2 separate regions of the Homo sapiens genome follow, and region 1 is linked to region 2. Evidence: promoter capture Hi-C in 16 types of primary human blood cells and fetal thymus (Javierre and others, 2016). All regions are on one chromosome and are shown on one strand. Each heading gives the region's core, a stretch centred on a gene start or on the middle of the fragment in contact. The rest is flanking DNA. Distances are from core to core; before and after follow the strand shown. Region 1 overlaps PHF20 (PHD finger protein 20). Region 2 holds the start of NFS1 (NFS1 cysteine desulfurase).

Region 1 (7,212 bases), core at 1,720-4,219, 220 kb before region 2:
TTCAGTCTCTGGAGTAGTTGGGTCTGCTGGCATGCATCACCATGCCCAGCTAATTTTTTAATTTTTTTGTAGAGGTAGGATCTTGCTATGTTTCCAGGGCTGGTCTCGAACTCCTGGGCTCAAGCAATCCTCCCGCCTCTGCCTCCCAAAATTCTGGGATTACAGCATGCCCAACCAACAATTATCTAATAGTAGTCCACAGGGCTTCAGAGAGTCTGCAAAATGTGTGTGTTTTTAAGGTAGGACAATTAAAAAAAAAAAGATGCACACTCAAACATGTTCCAAGCCATATGTTAAGACAATGAAGCCCGCCACCACACATAATTTTGTATTGCTAGGATAGCTCAGTATTATGTTGACCTCAAAACGGAGCTTGTCCTCCCATCTCTGATTAATCAAAGTAACTACACAGCATGCTGTTCAGGAAAAGTCACCCTGACAATGGCCATGTGCATCACGCTTGTCTCACTGTTGTATAACCAAATAGAGAAAAACAAATGAGCCACTGAAGTGCTCCAAGTCAGCAACTGTCTGTCACTCATAATTCTGACAGCATATTAGAATCATGGGAATATGCCCACCATTCACATGTCCGACCTCACAAGTAAAGATTATCCATTTTGAACTTTCAAAACTATTGCTGTTACCTGTTACACATTTTGGGGTTCTATGAAACAGTCCATTAGGAAAAGGGGTTCTGATATTCAAAAATGTTTGAAAACCACTGAACCAAGGTTTAATAAAGGTCTTAAATATCAGGTACCCTTGAATCCCAGAGGTTACTATGAAGGCTATTCAAAAAGACAAGACTCTCCCTCAGCCTAAAGTGTGGGTATGTATGTGTGTATGTACATGCGCATGTCCACTGGTGGTGCTGGGGAAGGGTTGGTCAGCCAGGCTAGATGGTACTATTATGTTTCAAAAACAAATTTTTCTTGTTTCACTTCTCAACTGTAAATGTAAATCCCCGTAGCTAAGGCCGCATAGGGAAAGAGCACTTGACTGGGTGCCCTGGGTTCAAATCATAATCTGATGACTTATTTAATGGTTCTACAACAATGAAAGAAATCATATCTTCGTAATTTTGTTTTCCCAAATAAGTGACTTGAGATCGCCTTGTTAGAGGTGAGATGGTATTTCTGAAAACACTCCAGAAACTTTAAATCACTACTCAGCTGTACCCAGTTACCTTAGCTCCATAGAGTTGCTTTAGTTCTATTAACAAAAAGAGCACGACTGTGGTACATCCATAGCATGGAATACTACCGGACAATAAGAATAAATGACTACTGAAACACACAACAACATGGATGAATCTCAAGGATATTATACAGAGTAAAAAAGGCCTCTCTCAAAAAGATACATACCACGTGATTCCATTAACCAAGAATCATAAATTACATAATTATAGACAGTTGAAACAGTTTAGTGTTTCCAGGGTTAGGGATAAGTATGGCTACAAAGTATGGGTACCAGGAGGGAATCTCATGGTCTTAGTATACCTCAGTACCTTGATTGCGGGAGTGATTACACAAGGCTGTACTTGTAATGAAAGCACACAGAGCTATATGCACACACAAATGAGTATGTGTATATCACTGATAAAATCTGAATAAGCTCTAGTGATTATGCCAATGTCAAATGGTTTTGTAGTTTTGATATCCTACTGTGGGTTTATGGGCTTTTGCCATGGGAGGAAGACCAGCAGAGGAATTCATGGGACTCTCCTGTACACCTCTTTACAATCTCCTGTGAATCTATAATTATTTCAAAATAAAAGTGTTTTCTAAAAGCCCTGGGAAAATAAAAGGCAAAAAAGCAAATACATCTACTCATCTCTAGTTGTTCTGAAAGTTTAAAGAGCTACGGAAAAGTCCCAATGTTTCAAGAAATAAAAGGAAAGGGGATTGTTGAGTATAAAGACAACAAATTCAAAGATGAGAGGAAAAAATGTAACTGTATATTAAGTCAAGATCCAAAAGTGAATTTCAAAAATCCATGCCATGCAGATCACAAGGTCAAGAGTTCAAGACCAGCCTAGCCAATATGGTGAAACACCGTCTCTACTAAAAATACAAAAATTAGCCGGGCATGGTGGCAGGCGCCTATAGTCCCAGCTACTCAGGGGGCTGAGGCAGGAGAATCGCTTGAACCCGGGAGGCAGAGGTTGCAGTGAGCCGAGATTGCGCCATTGCACTCCAGCCTGGGTGACAGAGGGAGACTCCGTCTCAAAAAAAAAAAAAAAAAAAAATTACCATAACAAAAATATTTTGCCAGGCGCGGTGGCTCACGCCTGTAATCCCAATACTTTGGGAGGCCAAGGCAGGTGGATCACCTGAGGTCGGGAGTTCCAGACAAGCCTGACCAACATGGAGAAACCGCTTCTCTACTGAAAATACAAAAATTAGCCGGGCGTGGTAGCACATGCCTGTAATCCCAGCTACTCGGGCAGTGGAGGCAGGCGAATCGCTTGAACCTGGGAGGCAGAGGGTGGTGGTGAGCCGAAATCGCGCCATTGCACTCCAGCCTGGGAAACAAGTGCAAAACTCCGTCTCAAAAAGAAAAAAAAAACCAAACCCATGCCATGCCAACCTACAGTACTGAAAGGGCAAGGAAATAATATTCTATCACAGAAAGCAAGCCAAAGGGGCTGGGCCTGTTTCTCATAATCTCAATAGGCTATACAGATTCTTATTGGACAATGGGCAGCCACCCCCTTTACTGGGAACAATCCCTGAACCCCCATTAACGCTATAATATAACACAGGTGGGCCCCAGGCAGTCTTTTTGCCCCTGTCGATAATCTGTAAGCTCTACTACCACCAGATCAGACAACTAGACCAGGGGAGAGCATTTGATCCATAACAAACCTCTTTCCCCTCTGGCCACAGGTGACTGTTCCAAAAACTAATATCTGATCTAAATTTGGCTGGAATTACTTACTCAGAAATTTAGAACTGGGACTAAGATTCTGACCTTGGTCTACCTAGCCTCTTGAACACAAAAATGTAAAATTGGGGCGAGGCCAAAGGTGGCCATTTTGCATTTTCCAAGAAAATAAGCAAGGAATAAAATAAAAAAGAACCAAAAGGACTCCAGAGAAGCAGGAAACAAGGCAGACCAAGGCCCTCAAGATGGAATTCCAGGTTCTGAGCCTGAAAGCAGCCCTGCCTCTGAGCCCTAGGACCCAGTCTATTTTCCCAACAATATTTGTACTTGCCCCTAAAAAAAAATCCTAACCAATATAACCATGACTTTTAAAAACTCAGCTTCCCAAGCCAGTTGGGCAGCTGTCAAGACACCCAGGGAACTTGTGACACCCTTAGGAGCCAGCCAGCCAGCGCCACCTCTCCCAGAACTGCAATTTACAGACAAGGGACAGGGCAGGCAGGTGCTGGCCAGGCATGGTTTCCCCAAGCAGGTAAGGAGGTCCCACCCACCACAGGCACATCTCAGAGATGAAGATGACAGACTCAAATGTCAGGAAAATAAAGAAAAAGAAACATAGAAGTTATAAAGCCAGCCTGCATGACTTTGGATCTTAAAGAAAATTTACCTCAAAGAGAAGATAAGAGTCCATGGGAAGATTAAACTGCCACTCCAAAGATTTCAGTCCCTGCTGTTCAACTCCTCACTTTGTGACCACAGGCAAGGCCCTTCCCATTTGCGGGTCCCAGCTGCCTCAAGCAGAGCATGAGAGGTTTAGACTCAGTGATCCCTAAAGTCCTCTCTTACTCCATCAATGGACTATGTATGGCAGCCTGGAACTCTGAGGAAGCCAAACGAAAAAGAGAAGCTCAGTCTGCTGCCGTTCGTGCTGTGTTTCTGGGGCTCTGCTATGACTTGCCATTGTTGCTGGCCTCAAAATTCCCTCCAAGGACCAGTTTGTGCTTCTCTAGACCTGTTTCCTGGAAGCTCTGCCTACCTGAATCATGAAGTCATTTTCCTCCTGGACCTCACAGATGCAGCGGACCACCTCGAAGTCATAGCGGTCATCCCCATCAAGTTCCTCATCTGGGTTGGTGGTCACATCCACATCTTGGCCATACTCATCATCACTCCAGAGAAAGCTCTCAGAAGAGGACTCACTCAAATTATCCTCCTCTACGAGGAAAGGGAAAACAACAGTTACTATTTTAGGTTATAAAATTAAAAAACCTTTGATTGTCAAGAATGAAAAATGACATTATAGTCCCATACCTCCAAACAAGAACATTCATAGGGCAAGGAAACGAGGATGCCAATCTGTCCTTGGATCTGTCATTTAGTAACAGCCCAAACGAAGCATGCTGCCTGGCAGTGAACTCAACTCCACTTCCTCATTTCACTGAGAGAATGAAGCCCAACGGCAGTGGCTACTCAAGATCATAGAACTCAGTGGCAGAGGAGCTACAACTCCCCATGAACCACACAGGCCACCATCCCTGACAACTCTAACATGTTCTTCAGCCTCACTCCATCCAGTCAGGACCTGGCTTACAGTCTGTCTGTATCCAGAGCTACCTTTAAAACTCTGTAAACAAAGGCTGAGCATGGTGGTTCATGCCTCTAATACCAGCATTTTGGGAGGCCGAAGGAGGAGGATTGCTTGCACTCAAGAGTTCAAGTCAAGCCTGGGCAACATGGCAAAACCCCATCTCCACTAAAAGAAAAAAAAAATTAGCTGGGCACGGTGATGCACGTCTACAGTCCCAGCTACTGAGGAGGCTGAGGCAGGAGGATCCCTTGAGCCTGCGAGTTTGAGGCTGCAGTGAGCTATGATCACACCACTGCACTCCATCCTGGGTGACAGCGTGAGACTTTGTCTCAAAAGACAAACAGGCTGGGCACAGTGGCTCACGCCTGTAATCCCAGCACTTTAGGAGGCCAAGGTGGGCCGATCACTTGAGCCTAGGATTTGAGACCAGCCTGGCCAACGTGGTGAAACCCTGTCTCTACTAAAAATACAAAAAAATTAGCTAGGTGTGGTGGTGTGCGCCTGTAATCCCAGCTATGGGGAGGCTGAGGCAGGAGAATCACTTGAACCCAGGAGGCAGAGGTTGCAGTGAGCCAAGATCACGCCACTGCACTCCAGCCTGGGTGACAGAGTGAGACTCCGTCTCAAAAACAAAAATCAAAAACAAAAACTCTATAGACAGTGAGGAATGAGGAAGAGGAAGATTCCAGGGATAATCAGAGGCAGAATCACTTGATGCCTGATTAGTTATAATCACAGCTAACTTTTACTAAGCGCTTGTTCTGAAGCAGATACTGTTCTAAGTCAGGCATAACTATTAATATTTTATTGCACTTCACAGATATTGTATATTATTTTACAAATTGAAGGTGTGTGGCAGCAACCCTGAAAGTCTACTGACACCATTATTGCAAAAGCAAATACTTTGTGTCTGTCAGCATTTTTAAGCAATAAAATATTGTTTTACTTTTTATTATTTTTATTTTATTTACTTATTTTTGAGACAGGGTCTCATTCTTTCTCCCAGAGTGCAGTGGCATGATCACAGCTCACTGCAGCCTTGACCTCCTGGGCTGAGGTGTTCCTCCCACCTGAGCCTCCTAAGTAGCTGAGATTACAGGTGCATGCCACAACAACCGGCTAACTTTTTTTGTATTTTTTGTAGAGGCAAGGTTTGCCATGTTGCCCAGGCTGGTCTTGAACTTCTGGGGTCAAGCAATCCACCCGCCTCAGCCTCCCAGAGTGTTGGGATTACAGGTGTGGGACATTGCACCCAGCTTTCATTTTTTAAATTGTCAGTTAACATAATGAAATGTATTGCTAGTTCAAATTTTTGAACATTACATCAAAACAAGATTGATCTAATGAACACATATGTCACATTTTTCAGGACATATGGAATAACTAAACTAATTTTATTTCAAAGAAAGTTTTAAGAAATGTAACAGTCCAGGCACGGTGGCTCATGCCTGTAATCCCAGCACTTTGGGAGGTCGAAGTGGGTGGATCACAAGGTCAGGAGTTCAAGACCAGCCTGACCAACATGGTGAAACCCTGTGTATACTAAAAATACAAAAATTAGCCAGGCGTGGTGGCGTACACCTGTAATCCCAGCAACTTGGGAGGTTGAGACAGGAGAATTGCTTGAATCCAGGAGGCAGAGGTTGCAGTGAGCCAAGATCGCGCCACTGCACTCCAGCCTGGGCAACAGAGTGAGACTCTGTCTCAAAAACAAAAACAAAGCAAAACAAAACAAAACAAAACAAAATATATATATATATTTTAAAATATAAATTATATATATAAACCCTTTCTCAAGAGGGCTCAAAGATATGTTTTAAGAGTCGTGTGTGTGAACAAATACCATCATTCACCTGCACATCCACTTACACTTCAATGCCTTCATATGTACCATCCTGTAGCAGGACACACTGGCCAATGCAGCAAGTGAGAAGGCTTTTCAATGCCAGCAGGACTTTGTAACACCTGGGTGAGTGGGTGCCTCCCTTCCAGGGCCCATATTAGGTTGAGCACATATATATATGTGTGTAAGTGTGTGTATATCTATATATATATATATAAAACATTTTACCTTTTTTTTTACATATATACATATATATATGTATATGTATATATATAACATATTTTACTGTTTTTTTTTTTTTTTTGAGACGGAGTCTGGCTTTGTCACCCAGGCTGGAGTGAAGTGGCATGATCTTGGCTCGCTGCAACCTCTGCCTCCCAGATTCAAACGATTCTCCTGCCTCAACCTCCCGAGTAGCTGGGATTACAAGGCAGACACCACCACGCCTGGCTAAGTTTTTGTATTTTTGCAGAGATGGGTTTCACCATGTTGGCCAGGCTGGTCTCAAACTTCTGGGCTCAAGTGACCCACCTGCCTCACCTCACAAAGTGTAGGGATTACAAGTGTGAGCCACCGCGCCTGGCCACCAATTTTTACATTGAATAATTTTTCTATTGAGTTGAGTTCTTATATATTCCAGCTACTAATCTCTTGTTGATGAATAGTTTACAAATATTTTCTTTCATTCAGTAGGTTTTCGGTTCATTCTATTAATCGTTTAGTTTGCTGTGCATAAGCTTTTCAGCTTGATGCAATCCCACTTGTCCATTTCTTTATTTATTGTCTATGCTTTTGAGGACTTACTCCAAAAAACTTGACATTTCTCAACACAACAATATTTTCCAATTAAGGTATATGCATTGTTTTAGACATATGCTACTGAACACTTAAG
Region 2 (7,025 bases), core at 308-2,807:
GGTTAGCATCGGATGCCCATCCCAATGGCCATGAATGTGCCAAAGGTGCCGCCACTCTGCATCATGGTTTTCCCAATGCCGCCCATCAGCTCTCGACCCCGCATTCCGATCCTGAGGAGGAAACCAAGATGGAGCTATTTGGTAACAAAAATATCAGAAAGAGTATTAACTGCTCCTTTCCAATTTTTTGCTAACACTAGTCTAGCAACCCCTACATCTGATTTTCCACTTACTGGATATTATATCTTACTACCTGGGGTGGGTAATGAGAAGGAAAAAGATCCATCTGGGTCTCCAGGGTATTTTTCTGGTGGATGTCGTATTAACTGCCTTCAGTTTGTGGGAGGCAGCAGATGCAGTGTAAAATACATAGAGAAACCAGCTTTTTTGACTGGTGTTGCCTGCAGTTTAAGACCCAATAAAGACATCTGTCTTTTAGTTTCTTGGTGTTAATGATTTTGGAGTAAGGTGGGGGTTCAAGAGTCAGCTCTACAATTTACACATAGTGTCAAGTGTAAAATGGGCATCTCAACATTATTTACAGGATTTTGAAAACTACAGTATTTAGCACAGTGCTTAACATAGAGTAAGTGCTCTGTAAATGATAATTTACAATCTAGGGATATGGCAATAACAGCCTCTAAATGTGAAAATGACCTTTAGAGTGTAAAGTTTAACTGCTTTATCTCTGTATCCTGTATCCAGAATAGTAAAACCGCTGAACGAGTTTCTTTCCTTATGCGCAATTGGAAAAAAAAATAAAAGCAACAGTAGTAACTAGTTACTGAGCACTTAATATGTGCCAGATGCTGTGCAAAGTGTGCTGATCGAATTTTTACAACTCTATAAGTTAGATGCTACTGTCTTCATTCTACACTTAAGGAAACCCAGTCTCCAACTTGCCTAAAGTCACCGAACCAGTAAGAAAAGGGCCAGAAAGCATTTTGACTCTAAAGCTCAAATTCTTAAGCACTGACGCTTCCAACCTGACTTTACAGATTGAAGGTGGTTTGGAATGAGTCTGGCTCGCGAGGGGACAGAGAGGGAAGTCGAAAGAAGGAGGCTGTGTTCAGGCTCCAGGCCGAATGGGGCAGGGCCGGAAGGTCTGGTTGTCCTGCCCAGAGATCACCGCCCGCGCCCCTCACCTGAGACAGGAAAAGGTGCCGAAGAGCGCCCCGGCCGCCATGCCCACGGCGCAACCCATCACGAAGCCCATTTTGACACGGTCGAAGCAGCTTGGCTGGGACTGTCCGTAGGGACCCACGGCCACCGGCATCTGCGGGGGATAGGAAAGTGTGGGCCCAGGCGCTGGCCCAAGAGTCGGGCGGGGACGGAAGCGGTAGGCTGGGAAGTGGGCCCAAGGGCTCAGGGGAAGTAAGGGAAGGAAAATCAGTGGGTAGCCCGACTCCACCACCCTCTTCGCGTTCCGGCCCCGCGTCGCCCGGCGCCTACCTCACCTCGCTCGCGGGCTGGGTCGCTCAGCTCTACGTCTCTCACGGAAAACGACGGGGAGGGCGCTCGCGGCCCGATGAATCGCTTCCGGAGCGCCGGGCAGCACTTCCGGGAGCCTGGGGCCCAGGACTGCAGCGGCTTCGGAAGGTGGGCTCTGCCAGCGGGACCATGCTGCTCCGAGCCGCTTGGAGGCGGGCGGCAGTGGCGGTGACAGCGGCTCCAGGGCCGAAGCCCGCGGCGCCCACTCGGGGGCTGCGCCTGCGCGGTACGCTCGGGTCCCGCTCTCCGGGAGGCGCGGACCTGTCCCCTCCGCGCGGCGACGCAACTGAATATTCCGGAGCCTTCCTGTCCACCCTGCTGCCCAGACCCTCTGACCCTTCTCTCAAATGACACATCCCTCAAACTTTCTTAGGCGGGTCCCCGAACGGTTGACCCCGGCGCACCACCCCTCGCACCCTGCGCGACAGGCCCCCAGAGCCGTGGAGGCGCGTCCTTCAGACCGCTCCTGGCCAAGTTACAGATGCTGCTCCGGGCTCCCGTGCAGACCGTTACCTTCGGTCAGAAGGGACTGCACCTACTCTGGCTCCACGTTCCTTCTAAACGTCTTTGCCCTTTAGAGCCTTCCTTCCTACGATACCATTTGAATATCAACTCAACACCCCCTCCAGGAACCCTCTCTCCCTCTCCCTTACCTCCTTTTACAGCGTGTCAGGTATCTGGTGTTGTTTTCTTTCCATTGAGATTCGACCCTAGCATCCCTTACACTTATCTCACCTCCAGCCAGATTTTTCCTTCTGCCCTTTGGATGCCATGCGTTCATAGTTGCCTTCGGTCTTACTTGGCTACTCCGTTCCATTTTTTATCAGTTGGAGACCGTGCTCCTCAGTCTGCGGTTCCCGCAGATACAGCCGCTGCCCCGGAGGTGGGGCCAGTGCTGCGACCTCTCTATATGGATGTGCAAGCTACAACTCCTCTGGTAAGGATGAAGCTTTTCCCAAGGCTGCTTATAGGAAGTAAATGATGGGCGTGATCACGCAAAGAAATGGCTGAATCCCTGGAGAAGTGAGAGCCGTGAAGGTGTGCTGGAAAAAGCACTGAGCGAGGAGTCGGGAGGCTTAAATTCGAGGCCACTGGCATTGGCTTTACTACTCACTAGCAATTGACCTTGGTCAGATCACTTCAGCGCAGGCTCTATAGTATTAGTTAAAAGCATGGGCTCTGGAATGAGCAGAACGGCCACTTAGTAACTGTGTGAACTTGGACAAGTATTAAACGGGTTAAAAGACTAATGCAAGTTTTCACCAATGTGTGACCAGGGGTGTTTGCCTAGGCCCTGTCCTGTCCCAGCCCCTTATAGATCACATTACCTGGCAGGAATGGAAACACCAGCAGAAACAGATGTCGGAACAAGGCAGTGTTTGTAGACTACCTGAGGGGAGGCAGAACAATCCGAGTTGGGATGGGTTGTGAGTGGGAGTGTATTAGGTTGATATTTGGTGGGTAGTTTTGTGGGAACAAAAGAATGTTTGAGGCCTCCTCTAGGCAGTGCCTGAGGGGTTGAGAGTGTCTTAAGGCAGGGTGGCCAGGTCTGAGGGGTGGAGTGGGACCTGAATTGACGATGCGCTCAAGGAAAATGATCTGTTCTGTTGTGTTCAGGACCCCCGGGTGCTTGATGCCATGCTCCCTTACCTAATCAACTACTATGGGAACCCACACTCCCGGACACATGCTTATGGCTGGGAGAGTGAGGCAGCCATGGAACGTGCTCGTCAGGTTAGTACACAGGAGTCTAGGAGGTTCTAAGGTCAAAGAGGGGCAGTGGCCTGTGGGAGGCATTTCTTTCTTGGTAGGTGTGCATGGAGGTAGAAATGGTTTTGGATTCTTTCTGGAAGAGATTCAAAGAGCAGCCTTGGAGTTTGACTGCAGGCATTTGATTGGTTCCCATATTTCCTGGCTAAATGACTTGGGCAAGTTATCTAATTTCTTTGAGCCTTATTTTCCTCATTTAAAACAGAGATTGTGGTAGTTTCTACTCTGTAGGGTTACTGGGTGGATTAAATAAGACAATGCTGATAAAGTGTTTATTACCACAACATCTGTAAGTAAGAAGTACTATAAATAGTAAGAGCTCAATAGTTCTTTTTTTTTTTTTTTATGAGATGGAGTTTTCACATTTGTTGCCCAGACTGGAGTGCAGTGGCGCACGATCTTGGCTCACTGCAACCTCTGCCTCCCGGGTTCAAGTGATTCTGCTGCCTCAGCCTCCCAAGTAATTGGGATTACAGGCACACGCCACCATGCCTAGCTAATATTTTTGTATTTTTATTTATTTATTTATTTACTATTATTTGAGACAGAGTTTTGCTCTTGTTACCCAGGCTGCAGTGCAGTGGCACGATCTCGGCTCACTGCAACCTCTGCCTCCCGGGTTCAAGCAGTTCTCCTACCTCAGCCTCCCAAGTAGCTGGGATTACAGGCATGCGCCACCACACCCGGGTAAATTTGTATTTTTAGTAGAGACGGGGTTTCTCCATGTTGGTCAGGCTGGTCTTGAATTCCCGACCTCAGGTGATCCACCTGCCTCAGCCTCCCAAAGTGCTGGGATTACAGGCTTGAGCCACCATGCCCGGCCTAATATTTTTGTATTCTTAGTAGAAATGGAGTTTCACCATGTTGGCCAGGTTGGTCTCGAACTCCTGACCTCAGGTGATCTTTCCACCTCGGCCTCCCAAAGTGCTGGGGTTACAGGAGTGACCCACCACACCTGGCCAATAGTTCATTAAAAAAAAAAAGTTATTATTTTGCATTGGGCTGGAAAAGAGCCTGGGATCTGGGATATAACTAGAATCTGATTCTTGTAGGTGCAGACCTTCATCCAGGGCAATTTGGTGGAATGCAGTGGAGCTCTTCTTGCTCCAGGGCTGTCCCACCTGTGTCTGCAGCTCTATTTCTGCCTGGGGAACTGATGTTATATATCTCTGTTTCTTGGCTTGCAGCAAGTAGCATCTCTGATTGGAGCTGATCCTCGTGAGATCATTTTTACTAGTGGTGCTACTGAATCCAACAACATAGCAATTAAGGTAAGAGAAGGGAACCAGAGGGTGTATGTGGGCTTTCCTGACCTAGGAGATAGTGTCCCTCCATCATTTGGACTCGTATATGTATTTCGCAGCCATCCATCCCCACCCCATTGTGAAGAGAAGGCTTGCAGTCTTTCTGATTTGTTGCTTCCTTTAACCCTTTGCAGTCTACTCTTTCTTAAGTCTTTGCTGCTGTTGGTCTGAGTTGAGTGAGGCAGTTGGATAGCAAAGGAGGTGGCCCTCAGGCCATTAACCACTTGTTTTTTTTTTGTCTGGCAGTTACTTCAGAGAGTGGATAATGGTGATTGAACCTTTTCTCCATTCTTCTTTTTTTTTTTGATACATAGTCTCACTCTGTCGCCAGGCTGGAGTGCAGTGGCGCAATCTCAGCTCACTGCAAACTCCACCTCCCAGGTTCAAGTGATTCTCCTGCCTCAGCCTCCAGAGTAGCTGGGAGTACAGGTGCCCGCCACCATGCCCAACTAATTTTTATATTTTTAGTAGAGATGGGGTTTCACCATATTGGCCAGGATGATCTCAATCTCTTGACCTGATGATCCTCCCATCTCGACCTCCCAAAGTGCTGGGATTACAGGTGTGAGCCACCGTACCCGGCCTTTCTCCATTCTTTTTATCTAGTAACAACAAGTTATATATGTGATTTCAGGGCTGTCCTCCTCTCAGCCTTCCTTTTTCTTTCTGATCAGATCTATTTGCAACAAGTTCCTCCTGTTTCTTTAGATATCTCCATTTTGAAGTGCTTGTCTTTGTGGTGCCCTCTGCAGGCATTCACATGGTCACCCATTCTGGGATCAGTCATTTTGTCCTGGGTACATAGAAGATCTTTGGTGCTAATGCAAGGAAAAGGTACTTTTAGTAGTCACGTTGGTGTTTCATAGAACATAGTCAGATTTCACTGGGCCTGGTTGCCAGGATTATGTGAGTAAATGCCAAGGCTCTGAGAAATTGTGGCTTGCTGTACTTTGAACTCTGGCTCCACTTGCTCTCATCTTTGTCTTTGAACTGTGCTGCCAGTGTTGGTTTCTTTGACCTTGGCCTGAATATAGGAGGCCTAGGACGGGCTTCAGGGTCATCAGCACTCTGCCTGATCATGTTAACAGGAAGGCATCCTTCCTTGGGACTGCAGAGACCAGAGAGTCGGGGTGAAGGTTCCTCCAAAGGTGGAGATGGTTTCTGAAATGGAGAGCATTTTCAAAACTTCGAAAATATTTTCTTTGGAAGTCTCCACAGATTCCAAACCAACAGGTCAAGGATCGCTAAGAGTACCTGTGATGATGTTTCTTTTAATCTCCATGATTGGTAGAGTAAAATAATCTATAAATTGTTAAAGAAATCTACATCATGGGTAACTGAGATAAAATAAGGTGGGTGGGTGGTGAAATGTCATTTAAATGAAATTTTTATAAACAACTGTAACATTTTGAACTATCATCACCATCCCACAACCATTTTTTCTTTTTTTTTTTTTAGACTGAGTCTCACTCTGTCATCCAGGCTGGAGTGCAGTGGCACGATCTTGACTCACTGCAAGCTCCGCCTCCTGGGTTCACGCCATTCTCCTGCCTCAGCCTCCTGAGTAGCTGGGACTACAGGCGCCCTCCACCACACCCGGCTAATTTTTTGTATTTTTAGTAGAGACAGGGTTTCACTGTGTTAGCCAGAATGGTCTCGATCTCCTGACCTCGTGATCCGCCCTCCTCGGCCTCCCAAAGTGCCCCACAACCATTTTTACTTACTGATGTAAATACTTTTTAGGATAAAATAGAGTATAAATCAATTATAAATGTTTCTCATTTATGTTCTTTGTCCTCATGAACAGACCATTTTTACATAGTTATAATTTTGTCCTATATGGTTTAATATTCTGCTTTTATTTTATTTATGTGTTTATTTTTTATAAGACAGGGTCTCAGCCGGGCCCAGTGGCTTACACCTGTAATCCCAGCACTTTGGGAGGCTGAGACCGGCAGATCATCTGAGATCAGGAGTTCGAGACCAGCCTGACCAACATGGTAAAACCCCGTCTCTACTAAAAATGCAAAAACTACCTGGGTGTGGTGGCACACCCCTGTAGTCCTAGCTACTTGGAAGGCTGAGGCAGGAGAATCAGTTGAACCCAGGAGGCAGAGGTTGCAGTTGCAGTGGGCCGAGATTGCGCCATTGCACTGTAGCAACAAGGGCGAAACTCTGTCTCAAAAAAAAAAAAAAAAAAGACATGGTCTCATTCTGTCACCTAGGCTGGGGTGCAGTTGCACAATCACAGCTCACTGGAGCCTTGAACTCCTGGACTCAAGCAATCCTCTCATCTTAGCCTCCCAAGTAGCTAGGCTTACAGGCGTGTACTAGCACGCCTGTCTAATTTTGTTATTTTAATTTATTTATTTATTTTTTTTTGAGATGGAGCCTGGCTCTGTCGCCCAGGCTGGAGTGCAGTGGCGTGATCTCAGCTCACTGCAAGCTCTGCCTCCTGGG

Evidence for each region. Contacts are between HindIII fragments. The CHiCAGO score rates a contact against its expected background, and 5 or more counts as called.
Region 1: a contact is called between a fragment that was not itself captured here and the fragment with the promoter of NFS1 in region 2, in 1 of 17 cell types (endothelial precursors). The highest score is 5.9, in endothelial precursors.

What each region holds. Positions count from the first base shown.
Region 1 is chr20:35,914,376-35,921,587 of GRCh38, reverse strand. PHF20 (PHD finger protein 20) reads right to left here. Exons shown (of 18, transcript NM_016436.5): 13 at 3,926-4,104. Among named protein-coding and RNA genes, the nearest start is that of SCAND1, 37 kb to the left of the region's middle. The HindIII fragment of the contact is 8,181 bases long and covers 1-7,059 here.
Region 2 is chr20:35,693,884-35,700,908 of GRCh38, reverse strand. It overlaps NFS1 (NFS1 cysteine desulfurase), which reads left to right and starts at 1,557. Exons shown (of 13, transcript NM_021100.5): 1 at 1,557-1,717; 2 at 2,319-2,428; 3 at 3,109-3,225; 4 at 4,449-4,532. The coding sequence starts at 1,621. It overlaps ROMO1 (reactive oxygen species modulator 1), which reads right to left and starts at 1,504. Exons shown (of 3, transcript NM_080748.3): 1 at 1,453-1,504; 2 at 1,146-1,276; 3 at 1-111. The coding sequence starts at 1,276. The coding sequence ends at 3. RefSeq lists enhancers at 880-1,099, 671-1,330, 1,331-1,990 and a silencer at 1,590-1,779. The HindIII fragment of the contact is 3,611 bases long and covers 1-2,442 here.